2 separate regions of the Homo sapiens genome follow, and region 2 is linked to region 1. The links are contacts of gene promoters, found by promoter capture Hi-C in blood cells and fetal thymus (Javierre and others, 2016). All regions are on one chromosome and are shown on one strand. Each heading gives the region's core, a stretch centred on a gene start or on the middle of the fragment in contact. The rest is flanking DNA. Distances are from core to core; before and after follow the strand shown. Region 1 holds the start of PRPS1 (phosphoribosyl pyrophosphate synthetase 1). Region 2 overlaps RBM41 (RNA binding motif protein 41).

Evidence for each region. The method cuts DNA at HindIII sites, captures the fragments that hold promoters and counts their contacts. A CHiCAGO score of 5 or more calls a contact.
Region 2: a contact is called between a fragment that was not itself captured here and the fragment with the promoter of PRPS1 in region 1, in 1 of 17 cell types (fetal thymus). The highest score is 7.4, in fetal thymus.

What each region holds. Positions count from the first base shown.
Region 1 is chrX:107,626,145-107,630,638 of GRCh38, forward strand. It overlaps PRPS1 (phosphoribosyl pyrophosphate synthetase 1), which reads left to right and starts at 2,366. Exons shown (of 7, transcript NM_002764.4): 1 at 2,366-2,606. The coding sequence starts at 2,485. RefSeq lists a silencer at 2,204-2,253. The HindIII fragment of the contact is 4,384 bases long and covers 1-2,835 here.
Region 2 is chrX:107,112,296-107,116,789 of GRCh38, forward strand. It overlaps RBM41 (RNA binding motif protein 41), which reads right to left. Exons shown (of 8, transcript NM_001324242.2): 2 at 4,355-4,471; 3 at 3,567-3,759; 4 at 3,057-3,261; 5 at 1,102-1,173. Among named protein-coding and RNA genes, the nearest start is that of RBM41, 4.3 kb to the right of the region's middle. The HindIII fragment of the contact is 4,639 bases long and covers 926-4,494 here.

The DNA of each region.
Region 1 (4,494 bases), core at 1,116-3,615:
GGACTACAGGTGCTTGCCACCATGCCCAGCTAATTTTTGTATTTTTTGTAGAGATAAGGTTTTGCCATGTTGCCCAGGCTGGTCTGCAAATCCTGAGCTCGAGTGATCCGCCCGCCTCGGCCTCCCAAAGTACTGGGATTACAGACATGAGCCATCGTGCCCACCTGAGTCCCCCAATCACTGTTTTGTTTTGTTTTGTTTAGACAGAATCTCACTCTGTCGCCCAGGCTGGAGTGCAGTGGTGCGATCTCCGCTCACTGCTGCAACCTCTGCCTCCCAAGTTCAAGTGATTCTCTTGCCTCAGTGGGACTACAGGTGCCCACCACCACGCCTGGCTAATTTTTGTATTTTTTGTAGAGACGAGGTTTCGCCACGTTGCCCAGGCTGGTCTTGAACTCCTGAGCTCAAGTGATCCGCCCACCTCGGCCACCCTGAGTGCTGGGATTACAGGCGTGAGCTACCGTGCCTGGCCGGCCTCCAATCACTCTTATCTCATTGACCTCACTTTCCTCCTTTTCTCTTATAGATACATTCCACCTCCACCACACAACACTCGTCCCGCATTGGTATTCCTCAAACAAGCGAGATACATCTGCCTTAGGGTATTTGCCCTTTCTGTTCTCTTTGCTTATCGAGATATCAACATGGCTCATTTTTTTGTTTTTTTTTTCCTCCTTCAGGTCTTTGCCCAAATGTTACCTTCCAAGACAGGTCTTCTCTGACCACCCTACTTAAAATTGTACTCCTCTCCTCTACACTCTGGCACATTATCCCACTTTCCTTGCCTGATTTTTTTTTCCACAACACTTATTGCCATTTGACATACTATGCATTTTGCTTATTTACATGTTTATTGTTTGAGAATGTAAACTCCATGACAGCAGGGTATTTTTAATTGTTTACTAATGTATTCTTGTGCCAATACACAGGGCCTAGCACATAAAGAATGTTCACTAAATATTTATTGAATGAACGAATCCCTTGGGGCAAATACTTTGTAGTCCCCTCAACGCCTTGCACACTGCCTTGCATGCAATAGAACACTCAGTAAATATTTGATGAATGGCCTATGATGGAAGACTACTAATATTCTGCCTTGCAGTTTACTTCCTTCTCCAAGTATTCCTATATACATGGGCCTACATTAAATTTCTGAGCTTGTAAAAGTGCAAAAAAGGTCAGAAGGAGAAGTCCTCCATGGACACTGCTGAAAATAGCAGTAAGACAAAGACAGGATGCTGCTTTGAGTATTTTCTGCCTTTGCCACTTAGATAAATCCCTCTCCCACCTCCATCTCAGTTTTATCATATGTAAAACGACTATATGATCTCTGAGGTCCCTTCTATTTTTACATTTGGTAGTTATGAGCACTATGGTCACTTTTGATTCCAGAATTGTATGATTTTTATCTTCTCCTAACCCATGCTTAAAATATGCTTAATGGAAACATGGTGCAAGAATAAAGGCTCACTTAGGTCCAATTAACAAGTATCGCTATAAAAATAATAAAACATGGTGTAAAAGGCCACATTAGCAACATGTAGCTGATGACATTGAGGCTTACATGAGGCAGACAGGACTAAAACCCAGGTTTTTTCAAATCCCTTCAGGGCTCTTTATCTGAAGTCCCATAGAACACTATACTTTCTTTCCTTTCCGAGGGCTATAAAAGTTAGATCTTTATTGTCCAGATAGTTTGGAAAATCCATCTTCCTTCACTTGTTTCAACATACTTGGTTCCAGCACTAGAAACAAAACAACTTTCTCTTGCAGTGTCTCTTGGATGATTCAGGTGGCATGCCTTCAGTCACTTCCCCCATGTAAACTGTCTTGCAGGCAAAGGCGACACTGCAATTACAATGGGCAAGCAAACTCCTTGCATGCACGTCTGTGATGTAAAAGTGTTTTAATTCAGCCCCATCCTTATAAAGAGATAAAAAATGTGTTCAGAAACATGCAAACTCGTGGCTGTCATCCTGATAAACAGATTTTCTTAAAGGAAACTGTAAACCAGAGCCAGACTTACTTTCCTGCGCTGAGGGAGGGGAAATAAAAAAGCAGGCATGGTTGATTTCCCGCTAGCGGGAACGATCTGGCCTCAGACGTCACCAGCATCCCTCCACCCCCAGTCCAACGTCTCCTGTCCCCAACAGCCTAGCTACAGGGGGCCGGGCTATGGGTTAGTCTCGCCCCCGTTCATGCTCTTCACCCAATACCTGAGAGAATCGGAAGGAGGCAGAGCTACACCGAGGACCAAACCCCGCCCTTCGCTCCCTCTTAGCTAATCGTTGCCAGCGGGGTGTGGACTTCGCCGCTGACCCCACCTCCGCCGCTTTGGGTAATTTAGAGCCGCGCGCCGGGCGGGAATGTAAGATGGCGGAGTAGCAACGCAAAGCGCTTGGTATTGAGTCTGTGGCCGACTTCGGTTCCGGTCTCTGCAGCAGCCGTGATCGCTTAGTGGAGTGCTTAGGGTAGTTGGCCAGGATGCCGAATATCAAAATCTTCAGCGGCAGCTCCCACCAGGACTTATCTCAGAAAATTGCTGACCGCCTGGGCCTGGAGCTAGGCAAGGTGGTGACTAAGAAATTCAGCAACCAGGAGACCTGGTAAGGACCAAGTTGGGACCCTGACTAGACCTCACCTGCCCAGGCGGCAGAGTATAGGAGGGATGGGGTCGCCGCTTGAGCTCAAACAGACTGGGGGTTGGGGGGAGAGGGTGCAGCTCTGTGACTAGCCTACCCCACGGGCTGTTTCCGTTATTTTACCTCTCGCGGGAGGGTCACGTTCATTCTTACCGTGCGGTGGGGTGGAGTCAAAAGATGGAGTGTGAGGCGAAGCTTCTGCGTTTGAGGGCAAGGGCTGGGGGACCCAATAGATAGTGGCTGCATAGAGCGACGAGAGGGGACCGACGCTTAGCCAGGGCGGTAGGGACACGTGGCTTGGCTTTGCTGTTGAGCCACCCAGGCTGGACTGGGTTGCTTCAGCTCTTAGACTAGCTTGCATTTAGAGAGCCTACCTGCGTACTGAGCTCTCCTGGTCTTTCTTTTCCTAGAGTCCAATAAGCAGCTTTTTGATTCGAAATGGTGTTGGTCCGTTCGGCTTGGTGTTGAGGGAAACTGACATTATATACTGCAGGCGCCAAAATTATTACGACTTCCCTTAGATCAGCAAGCGTTGGCTTTTCTCATCTTATGAATCATCTACCTGAGTAATTGGAGCCATAAATCTAGTTGATTTGTTAAAGTGATGCGTTGACTCTGCATCCTTGATAGCCAGCATCTCAGCTTGAGCCATCCAAAAAATCTTGGAAATCTCAATTCTGGAATGTTTGACCTTCCCCAGTGCAGCTAGTGGTACAGATAATGCAAAAGCGTATTTTTCAGTAACCGAGTCCATCCTGGACTTGGCTCCTTCTTTAAGCTCTGTGTAGGGAATTTAGGAAACAATTTTATACCTGAATGTTAAAGATAATTGAGGACAGGCAATGTAGTGGAAGACTAGGATTGGACAGTGCATTGCAACTTGCGTTTTTTCCATTGCCTTGCCAGTAAAACTTGCTTCCTCGACTCCGACTTACACCCTCTACCGGCACCATGGGACTGTTTTAGAGATGACTTGGTTACCTGATTATTTCAGTGCCCCTTCCACCTAAGTGTGGGATCTTTAGTTTCTGATAGGTGTAATTTGTATTTTATTGTTACCCTATCGATTAAATCAGAGCCCTGCCCACAATCTTACAGATTTGTTAAGGGGAAAGTTTTCACCTAATAATCAGATAAGAATATTTCGAATATTTTTTCCTAAATGTTTTTGCTTACTTTTTTGCTTTCTTTGGACTGATTTCCAAGTTTAACTCGCCTTATCTCTTTTAGACCCAGCTGATAAAGTAATGTCACCGATAATGGACAGCTTCTTCCCGAATTATTGTGCTACTGATTGTGATGCAAATGATAGTGTAAACATTGCCATCTGTAACCAGGCAATACCTTAGTTAAAAGAGGCTTACAAACTGCTGTCTTTAGATTTTTCCAAACCATTATGGCTCATGGGCCTTAATAAAGAATACAAAACAGGACTAGACTTTGTGATTGGCAATATAGTTAGGGGACAAGAATGTTTTTCATTTAGAGGTTTTCTTTGGCCCCTGTGGATATTTAATCCTTTTCCTATGCGTCTAGGAAAAATGTGAAGGCATGAAAGCTTTATTTTCTCCTTGTGTTAATCCTTCTGCCCTCTGCATAATGCAGCACCCCAGAACCTGAGGCTATATTGGGAGAGGAGAGGGGGAGGACAACTTAGTTTTCTACTGATTGATTTCTATTAAGTCCAACATGGATAATTGCTGACTGGTTAGATTTTCTTGTTTCTGGCTTAATCATTAGCTTCTTGTTTCCTAGATATTCTGAAATCTTCATTGAACATAATCACATTTTTTTTTATGGAGTTCCCCCTATCTTTGTTTTTCCTATACTGAAGAAATGGTAACTGCTCCCT
Region 2 (4,494 bases), core at 1,995-4,494, 510 kb before region 1:
TTAGCCATTAAAGAAATGCAAATTAAAACTACAATGAGGTACCACTTCACAGCTATTGAAATAACCAAAATAAATACTGACAATACCAAGTGCTGACAAAGATGTAGAGCAACTCGAACTTTCATACATTGCTGGTGAAAATGCAAAATGGTACAGCCACTCTGGAAAATGGTTTGGCAGTTTCATATAAAGTTAAATGTACACTTACCATATGACCCAGTAATCCCACTTCTAGATATTTACCTTAGAGAAATAAAAACTTATGTTCACAAAAAAACCTGTACAAGAACGTTCATATCAATATTATGCATAGCCATCATAACCTGGAAACAACCCGAATGCACTTCAATGGGTGAATGGATAAACAAACTTTGGAATGTCCATATGATGAAACACTACTCAACAAAATAAATGAACTATTGATACACGCAACAACTCAAATGAGTCTCAAAGGCATTATGCTGAGTGAAAGAAGCCAGTCTCACAAGGTTACATGTTGTGTGATTCCATTTACATGACATTTTCTAAAAGATAAAACTACAGTGATGGAAAACAGTCAGTGATTGTCAGGAATTATGGTGGGTTGGGAATGACTATAAAGGGACAGCATGAGGGAGTTTTTTAAGGTGATGAAGCTATTCTCTTTCTTGATTGTGGTGGTGGTTACATGAATCTACATGATTTACAATTCATAGAATTGTACACCAAAAAAGAAGAAGCCCCATGCAATTTTATTGGAAGTTCATTTCAAAAGTAAGAAAATATTAGCTATCATATCATCATCATCATCAATAATTATACTTTACTGACTAATAAAAATATTCAGAATTATTTGTGAAATGGGATCTAAAAATCATTAAGGTCAATTTATGTCTGGTACAATAATTTAAATGTATAGAGAAAAAACAACAGCAGTAAATGTAAAAGCTTTACAACTTCTACTAACTCCTCTCTTTAATATTCTGTATCAGGATAATATGCTCCCTCTGGATCATTTCCTATAAACATTGTCATATACTGAATATGGAATTAAATAAGTGCTCAACTGGGACCCTAGGTTACATTCCTAAGTCTAACACTATAAGAAAACTCTCGACTTGCCTTTTGTGCCTAATTTTATCTTCCTCTTCATTGAGGTCATGTACTTGTCTGCACTTGTCTTTTTGTGGTATGCTGTGAAGGTTTAAAGCAAGGAGTTTCAAAGATAGGAAACAGAACAGATTCATAAACCACCCACCCTCCACCCCAAATACCAGGTACTGCTTTAAGTGATTTACATGTATTCTCTCACTTAATCCTCTTAGTAACCCTGTAACATAGCTACTATTAATATTCTCATTTTACAGATGAAGATACTGAAGCATAGAGAGGTAACTTGCCTAGCATCTCATAGCTAGTTAAGTGGGGGAGCCAGGATTTTCCCAGGCAGTCTGCCTCCAGAGCCCATGTTCTTAATCATTATGCTAAATGTCTCTCCACAAAAGGTTATTCATTTGTTCATTCATTCCTTCCTTCACCACTGCTCTGCCATGTCTATGATCCTTCTATCTCTAACAAATCATTCATCCATTCTCACGGCCTTAACATGTTATCTAAGGATAGATGATTCCCAGTTCTATATATCTAGTTCTGACCTCTCTCCTGAGCTTCACGGCTGCATTTCCAACTGTCTCCTCAACATCTGCATTTGATGATCCTGCCATTCTCACAAATTCCACATGTTTAAAATCAAACTCATCATCCTTCCTCGAAATTTCCCCATAAAGGCTTTCTTAATTTTGCCAATTGGTAAGTCACACAGCCTTGAAACCTCTGGATTATCTTTGACACATACCTCTGCATTGACCTCCCTCCTTCATTTTCAGTCAACGAGTTTTATTAGTTCTTCCATTATAAACCTACCTCTCTCCAATTTCACTGCTATCACTCTAGACCAAGTCTTCATGCCTAAATGACTGTAATATCTCCTATCCATTCTGCCTGCTTCCAGTTCTTCCTCTCTCTAATCCTATTTATTGACCACCAGATTAATAATTTTCAAATATGGCTTTTATCATGTCACTTCTGGTTCAAAAACCTTCAACCATATTGAAACTAACTGATAACTAACTCTGTATAAGTCTATACTAGTTACCAAATACAGTTCAAAATTTTTAGCTACCTTTCTAACCTTGTCTCACATCTCCTCCATAGTTAGCACACTCCCTAGTGCTCACACCATCTGTTGCAACTGAAATGTCATTACCTCTCTTTTCTAAAGAATAGGTAGTATTAAAAGAACATTTAAATCTTACCTCCTCTGAGAGGGCTTCTTCAATCACACCAATACACAGTGGCCTTTGCCTCCTCTGAACTCCAACAACACTTAACAAATGTATCTAGTATTGTCACTAAATGTTACATGTTTATCTCTCCAACCAGACTATACTTGGCACAAGGTGAGGAACCATTTCTTAAACTTCCATGCACCTTCCACAGCGTCTAGTAAAACTTATCTGTCAAACTAAATCCTTCTGGTTAAGACACATACTATTTATCTATATATTTTGTGCTAATTTGTAGTTCAGCCTAAAGACCCTTCACAATCTAGCTTCGCCTCCCCTTCCTTCCAGTGTCACCTCCTGTCATTCCCTGCCACTTCTTCTACTCCTGCCACGTTAAACTTCTCATTGTTCCTTAGACACACCAGGTTCTTTCATAATCCTGTTGCTATTTACTACCTTTAATCTCCATTCCCCTTTATTTACCTGACAAATGCCCATTGATCCATCAGGAGTTAGTATAAATGTCAACTTCTGACTCCCCCAACTAGACTTAGATGCTCTGTGTTCTGCACTACCTCAGCATTTTATTCAAATCTCTATAATAGCAGTTTCCATGTTGTCATGCAACTAACTGTGCACATATTTGTCTCTCTTATGGTATTATACATTTCTCAAAAGTAGTGACAATTTGTCTTTCCCCTATTCCCTTCACTAACTCTTCATATTTAATGCCCTGCTGTTTAATCTTTCTCTCAGTGAAAGAATATATCAAAGTCAGTGGGGATCACATACCTTGGTAATAAAGAGCCTTAAGGAAGGAGTGACGATCAGCTCCCTGAAATAAAGACTTTTCTATTTCCATTTCTCGCCGGGTCAGCTGTTTGCTCTTTGCAAATCTCTGTGGCAGGCAAAGAATGCGCTGACGCTCCGAGATCCTTTCTTCAATATCTTGAAGACGGTTCTGTATTGCTTCAGGAGTTGCCCTCAGTTTTGTCTTCTGAAACCAGAGGAATGAGATGGCATGTATCATAGAGGGCACAACCTGAACATGATGATCTGGTATCTCAAGTAAAAAGATGACCTAGGCCCAGAAATGAATGTTTACAGAAAGTGTTAGCTAAGAAGTTAAAGAACAGCTTCTCTTTTACCAATGTCTGCATTCTAAAAATCAAAGAAGATTCAGACACCAAGCTCAGTTTTGTGAGAACTAGAAATGAAAAGGCTCTCAGTGCTAAAATGAAGATATTTTGCTCTGTTTCTTTGAGGAGAAAAACCAACAAAAAAAAACATTACCCCACTCACCTTTTCACCAGAAACATGGCTCTTCCAGATCAAGATTTCTGTTTCATTAAGCCCTAATTCCCTGAGAGAAGCAGTTTCCTGGTCCTTCTCATGCAGTGTCTGGAATTGGGACAAAGTCATAGTCCCAGCTGCTTCCTTCCCAAAGGGCTTGTACATAGTACCAGGAGCAAAGCTCTCTTTCTTAGACATACATCTGCAAAACATGCAGGAGGAGAGTAAGAACATCTTGAGGTTACTATCATTCACAAAAATGGAGGTTCAGCACTGTAAGAGGTACAATGAAACTCACCAGCAAATTTTCTCTTACATCTTATTTCTAAGCTGAAGCACCACTGCAACAAAATGGAACTCCATCGAGAGTGCCGTCATCCAGGAATAATAAACTAAATCAACAAATATTTATTGAGTACTTACTATGCATCAGATACTCTGCTAGGTACTAAGGATTTAATAGCTTTATAAAAAAGATAAAAATGGCTCCTGCTTTTGTGGAAAAACAGTGGAACAGAGGCAAGTAAACAGGCAATGATAATATTGGGTTACAAGTGCTATGTTAAGGGAAATATGGGATGCTGTAGGAGGACATAAAATAGGTACTTGGCTCAGACTTAGTGAGATATGGGAGGCTTCCCAGAGGAAGAGACACAGAATTAAAACCCTACCTAATACATTGAAGTCTAACAAAGAAAGGGAGGTGGGAGAGGAACATTCCATCTAGGCTTTAAGAGAGATCTGTCACCTGGAGGTAAGAGTCTATGATACTCTCCGTTTGCAAAATCAATACCTACTCCTCAATGGAGACAGAAGTATCAAGTTGATGCTGAAGGAGGCTTTTCAGCTGCCTCTCCCCTTCTGTTTCCAGCTCCTCCAGGACATGCTCATCACTCTTCACACAGCTGTTTACCCTGGAGTAGACATAAGAATATAT